Linked DNA regions of Homo sapiens: region 2 is linked to region 1. The links are contacts of gene promoters, found by promoter capture Hi-C in human tissues and cell types (Jung and others, 2019). All regions are on one chromosome and are shown on one strand. Each heading gives the region's core, a stretch centred on a gene start or on the middle of the fragment in contact. The rest is flanking DNA. Distances are from core to core; before and after follow the strand shown.

Region 1 (3,136 bases), core at 1-2,500:
TTGAACTCGTGAGCTCAAGTTATCCTCCCAGCTCAGCCTCCTGAGTAGCTGGGACCACAGGTGCACACCAACACGCCTTGCTAACTTTTATTTTTATTTTTGAGACACAGTCTCGCTCTGTCACCCAGGCTGGAGTGCAATGGTGCGTTCTTGGCTCACTGCAACCTCCACCTCCTGGGTTCAAGTGACCCTCCTGCCTCAGCCTCCCAAGTAGCTGGAATTACAGGTGCACGCCACCAGGCCCAGCTAATTTTTGTATTTTTATAGAGACAGGGTTTCACCATGTTGGCCAGGCTGGTCTTGAACTCCTGACCTCAGGTGATCCGCCCACCTCAGCCTCCCAAAGTGCTGAGATTACAGGCGTGAGCCACCGTACCCAGCCCATGGCTAATTTTTAAACTTTTTTGTAGAGATGGAGTCTCACTATGTTGCCCAGGCTGGTCTCAAGCTCCTGGCTTCAAGCAGTCCTCCCACCTCAGCCTCCCAAAGTGCTGGGATTACAGGCATGAGCCACCATGCCCAGCCGCAGAAGGGCAATTATTACACAGTGACAGTGGAAGGAACAGAGACACAGTCGGTGGATGGTGGGAAGATAAGAACATTCACTCTGAGGGCTTCTAGTAACGTTGGAGAAGTGAGCATCAGCTTAGCAGAAGGGAGGGAGGGAAGGAAGCACAGGAGGTTTGAGGAGAGAGAGAGAGGAAGTATGAAATCAGAGCTGCACTTCAATGTGGTGGCTATTGGCCATGTGTGGCTACAGGATAGCTGGAATATGGCTGGTCTGAACTGCGATGTGCTAGAAAGGTAAAATACAGGGTTAGATTTAAAGATTTAGTTCCAAGAATATATACACTACATTAATAATTACATATTGCTCCTATACTAAAATAATATTTTGGATATATTGGGTTATTAAATGGTTAGAATGAATTTCACCTGTTTCTTCTTTCTTCTTAACTACTAGAAAATTTAGAATTCACACATGGCTCACATTTTATTTCAGACGGTTGCCTTACAAGGCAAATGCCGTCTGGGGAGGGCCTGGGTCAGCTCAGGGAGGAAGCTCTGCCTGAAAAGGCTTAGGGTTCACTCTACATTCAGCCCAGCATCTGAGCACGTCTTCTGTCAATCAAGGCCTGAGAGGGTGGGGCCCTAAACATTATCCAATCAGGGACGCTGGGCTGGGACCCGTCCAATCAGGCACTCAGCTGGAGCAGACAGGACGGCTTCCGGGTTTGGTGGGGCCTTTGTCTCTGGCGGCAGCCGGAGCTTCTGGTGTAGTCTTCACTGCTCTGTGTCTTCTGCTCCTAGAGGCCCAGCTTCTGTGGCCTCGTTACCTGCAGGTATTGGGAGATCCACAGCTAAGACGCCAGGACCCACTGGAAGCCTAGAAATGGTGAGAGTGCCGGGTCCGACATCCCGAGAGAGGGGGCGGGGCTGGTTGGAACTGGTGGGAAGTGGCTGTGGCGGGACTCTGGCCTCCCCGCAGCTGGCTCCAAAATCCGCGGCCCCGAGTTCTCCTTGGCGCAGCTCGGCCCTCAGTCCCCTTCAGCCATAGGATGGCGGCCGGGCTGACAGCTCGGACCCCGGGCATCCTGTCTCCTCCCTGCGCAGTGACTGTGCCTTGTTCTGGAGTCCTCTGTGGGCAGCTCTGCCCCCACTGCCGCAGCTCTCCCCGATTGTGCAGGGACCACTGGACGGTCGTCAGGGGAGAATACTGACTCAGGATGCAGAGTTCATGAATGGGAAGAGCTTTGGTCTGCGGGGTTCCCAGTCCCCCTTTTTTTCTATTAAAAATTTGTGGAAGTCTCCGCAGAAATATTAAAGAATTTAATTAAAGAGTAATTCAAGAATTGTAGAGCACCAAGCTATGTTTTGTAGTTTGTGGTTTATGGAAGGGGCTTGAAGAAAACACTTTTATAAAGTGCATGATAAAGGAAAGCAAATTCAATAATTGGTTAGGTAAAGTTATGTAGTTTCTTAATTTGTACGATCAAGGTGGAAATTCCCTGGTCATGTAATGAGAGGTTAATTGGCAGTTTATAGTTGGTTAAGCCTGAATTTTATTTTCCCCCAATGTAATACTTTAGAAAAAAATCATTCGAGTTAGATTTTTTTGCAAGTAGCAACCCTAGGACTGGAGCCACCTCAGTCTAATTGCCTGCCACTTAATTATTTTCACACTCCACAGGGCACTGATTTTCCTCTGCATTTTTCACTTCTGTCTCAAGCAGGGTCTCAAGACTTCTCCCCATTTCCCATTCCTCCAGCCTAACTCTGGCTTGCAGTAAAATACTAAATTTCCAGTTCCTTCTGACATTCCCAAATGCCAATTTCCCCTCCCTAATTCACATTATCAACTATTTGTCCTTTAATGTACACTTTAGTGTACATTTTAGGTACCATATTTTAATTAATCATTTTTTGACAAAGCATTGGCTGGCATTTTAAAAAAGATTTGTTTTCTGTTTGTAAAGATTTCCCAAGAGAAGAAAGCAAAGAATAATCCCCTGACACTGTATTGTAAAAAATGTTCTGTGCCTCCTTTCCTTTTATTGCCTCTAGCCACAGAAACCTTATCAGAATATTTTTGGGTCAGGGTTTCCCTTTGGAAACTTTATAAGGTAATGTGTCCTCAGCCACCCTTCAGTTTTTTCCCTGGTTCTGGGTTTCAGTACTGTCTGGGGATAAATCAAGATATCCACTGTGGCTGTGTATGCTACAATGTCTAGTAAATTTCAGCTCCTGGCCTGGAATGAAACTTCGCATATCTGGGAATGGGAGACAGGACAGCCTGAAGTTGGAGTGTAGCCTCTCAAGGGAGCAGGTGGATGCCCTGAGGCTGAGAGGAGTCTCCTGGGGTACTCTTCCTTTGAAAAGCAAACCCTTAGAGAAGTTAAGATTGTCTTCAAGCAACCCGGGTTCCATTTCTCGAAGACACATTGCTGGTCAGCCAATCAGATGGTGGTAATGAGGGAAAAACAAATAATTACTGCCACCTGGATTCTCCAAGAATTATGAAAGAGAAAATAGTATCCCAAAAGACAAAAAAAAAAAAAAAAAAAAAATCAAACCTGGCCCCAGTGAGATGGTGCAGCAACTTGCAAAGTGAAATGCACCTTGGGGCACTCAATGG
Region 2 (3,066 bases), core at 440-2,939, 1.1 Mb after region 1:
GGAGAATCACTTGAACCCAGGAGGCAGAGTTTGCAGTGAGCCGAAATCCCACCACTGCACTGCAGCCTGAGTAACAGAGCAAGACTGTCAAAAAAAAAAAAAAAAAAAAAAAAAAAAAAAGAAAGAAAAAGAAAAGAAAAGAAAACAGAAACGGCGCTGGGCTCTAGTTTCATGCAGGCACAGTTCAAAAGCAGTTTTGCTCAACCTGAGATTTGCCTAAAATCATAAATCAGTGCCCCTCTAGGCAGGCCTGCTGACATCAGTCTCACTGTGAATCTTAAAGCAGCCCTGTAACCCAGTTCTAATCCCAGTCAGCCAGTGTCTGGGAGCAGTCCTACCCACCCAGAAACCTGGAGGGAAATACACCATGGACCCAGAGACAGAACTGAAGAATTTAGCCTCACTCGTGTATCCTGAAGCAGCCCTATAAATTAGTTCCCATGGCTCTCAGCTTTGATTAGGGGTCAGTACTGCCCATCCAGTAAGCTGTCTAATAACTGGATTAGCGCACTCCCAGAGACCTAGTGGGAGCCACACCTGTCTACATCTATTCTACCAGCACCCCATATGCAGAAACAACTGCAATTTCTTATCTCAGCACTAGTCCTGATAATCGATATTCTAAAGAAGGTTGACTCTTGGCCGGGCGCGGTGGCTCACGCCTGTAATCCCAGCACTTTGGGAGGCCGAGGCGGGCGGATCACGAGGTCAGGAGATCAAGACCATCTTGGCTAACACGGTGAAACCCCTTCTCTACTAAAAATACAAAAAATTAGCCGGGCGCGGTGGCGGGCGCCTGTAGTCCTAGCTACTCAGGAGGCTGAGGCAGGAGAATGGCGTGAACCTGGAGGCGGAGCTTGCAGTGAGCCGAGATAGTGCCATTGCACTCCAGCCTGGGCAAAAGAGCGAGACTCCGTCTCAAAAAAAAAAAGAAAGTTGACTCTTCCAGGGAACAGACAGAATTTATAACTGTCTTATGTGTTAATAACGGGTCTGCCAACCACGAAACCCACTAAAGACCAAGTAGCAATTATGTGACCTGGCTCCAACAAACTCAACTGCAATGTCAATTAAAATCTCATCAGCCCAGGGACCCAATAGGAGAAAGTATTTATCTTTCAAAACTCTCCTATGATTAGTGGAAGATGTGTTTACTCCTTCATATTCAGGGACACAGACATAAGCCTGCACAGATCTTAAAGAATCTGAAAATCATGAACATCACCCAAAGAAACTAATAAAGCTCTAGTAAAAATCTGCAAAGAAATGGAGATCTCAGAATTGGCCAACATAGAATTAAAAATAATCATCAAGAGATTTCAATAAAATCCAAAAGAACACCAATAGATAACTAAAAATGTTATGAAATGACACAGAAACAAAATGAGAATTATAATAAATAGGCTGATCATGTTGGCTTACACCTGTGCTAACTGCAATTTGGGAGGCTGAGGCTGGAGAATTGCTTGGGACCAAGAGTTTAAGACCAACCTGGCCAATAGAGCAAGACCCCACCTATATTTAAAAAATTATTTTAATAGATAAATAGAAACCATAAAAAACAACCACTTCGTGAGATCTTCGCTGTGGTGAAGATGGCCATGGTGGCAGCTGACAGGACAGCCGGGGTCTATTTTGTTGCAGGTTTTCAGCAAATCCAGGGCTGGTCTGGAGGTGTGAAGCATACAGAACAATGGAGTATATGACAGAATCGACTGACCGCAGCCCTGGACTCATCCTGTGCTGTGAGTGTGGTATTGCAATAAGTCCCAATCCTGCCAATATTTGTGTGGCCTGTTTGCAAAGTAAAGTGGGCATCAGCCAAGATATTCCAAAACAAGTCTCACTTTTGTTCTACAAACAATGTCAAAGGTATTTTCAGCCACCAGGAACTTGGATACGGTGTGCTTTAGAATCCAGGGAACTTCTTGCTTTGTGTTCAAAGCCCCTCTGAGTAAGGAACGGCTTGTGAATGCAGGCTTTGTTTGGACTGAGCCCCATTCTAAGAGATTTAAAGTTAAACTGACTCCAGAAAGAGGTGATGAATGGTGCTGTCCTTCAACAAGTGTTTGTGGTGGATTATGCTGTTCAGTCCCAAATATGTGGAGATTGCCATAGAGTAGAAGCTAAGGGTTTCTGGAGGGCTGTGATTCAAGTGAGGCAAAAGACTTTGCACAAAAAAGCTTTCTACTATCTGGAACAGTTAATTCTGAAATATGGAAGGCATCAGAATACACTTCGTATCAAAGAGATTCATGATGGTCTGGATTTTTATTATTCCTCAAAACCACATGCTCAGAAGATGGTCGAATTTATTCAGTATACAGTTCCCTGTAGATACAACGCATCCCAAAGACTGATCTCTCAGGATGTCCATAGTAATACATACAATTACAAAAGCACTTTTTCTGTGGAAATTGTTCCAATATGCCAGGATTATGTTGTCTGTCTGTCTCCAAAACTGACACAAAGCCTGGGAAATATGAACCAGATTTGTGTGTGTATTCGAATAACCAGTGCCATTCACCTCATTGATCCAAACACCCTACAAGTTGCAGATATTGATGGCAGCACTTTCTGGAGTCACTCTTTCAGTAGTTTATGTCACCCCAAACAGCTAGAGGAATTTATTGTGATGAAATGCAGCATAGTCCGAAATATAAAACACGGTGCAGATGCTGGAATGATATCAAAAAAGCATACCCTCAGGGAAGTCTGGGTACAGAAGACATCTGAAATGAATACAGATAAACAGTATTTTTGTCATACTCATTTGGGACATCTTCTAAATCCTGGAGAGCTGGTGTTAGGGTTTGATTTGGCCAGCTGCAATTTAAATGATGAGCATGGCAACAAAATGAACTCAGATAGAGTTCCAGATGTGGTATTAATCAAGAAGAACTAAGACTGGACCAAACATCAGTGATGTAGAAACTGGAAACTGAAAGAGCTTGCAGGAGAGAGAACATGGATACAGATGATGAAAGGCAATACCAAGATTTTCTTGAAGATCTTGAAGAAGATGAGGCAATTAGAAAAAATGTCAACATTTACAGAGAGTCAACC

The links. The method cuts DNA at HindIII sites, captures the fragments that hold promoters and counts their contacts. A contact is called where the count stands out against the background at its distance.
Region 2: a contact is called between a fragment that was not itself captured here and the fragment with the promoter of ERV3-1 in region 1, in 1 of the 25 tissues and cell types used here (dorsolateral prefrontal cortex).

The regions. Positions count from the first base shown.
Region 1 is chr7:65,004,801-65,007,936 of GRCh38, reverse strand. It overlaps ERV3-1 (endogenous retrovirus group 3 member 1, envelope), which reads left to right and starts at 1,250. Exons shown (of 2, transcript NM_001007253.4): 1 at 1,250-1,396. ERV3-1-ZNF117 (ERV3-1-ZNF117 readthrough) reads left to right here and starts at 1,191. Exons shown (of 4, transcript NM_001348050.2): 1 at 1,191-1,396. RefSeq lists a silencer at 990-1,159 and an enhancer at 1,260-1,319. The HindIII fragment of the contact is 15,538 bases long and covers 1-3,136 here.
Region 2 is chr7:63,909,080-63,912,145 of GRCh38, reverse strand. All of the region lies in intron 5 of LINC02848 (long intergenic non-protein coding RNA 2848), which reads right to left. It also overlaps the pseudogene NMD3P1. Among named protein-coding and RNA genes, the nearest start is that of LINC02848, 11 kb to the right of the region's middle. The HindIII fragment of the contact is 3,533 bases long and covers 1-3,066 here.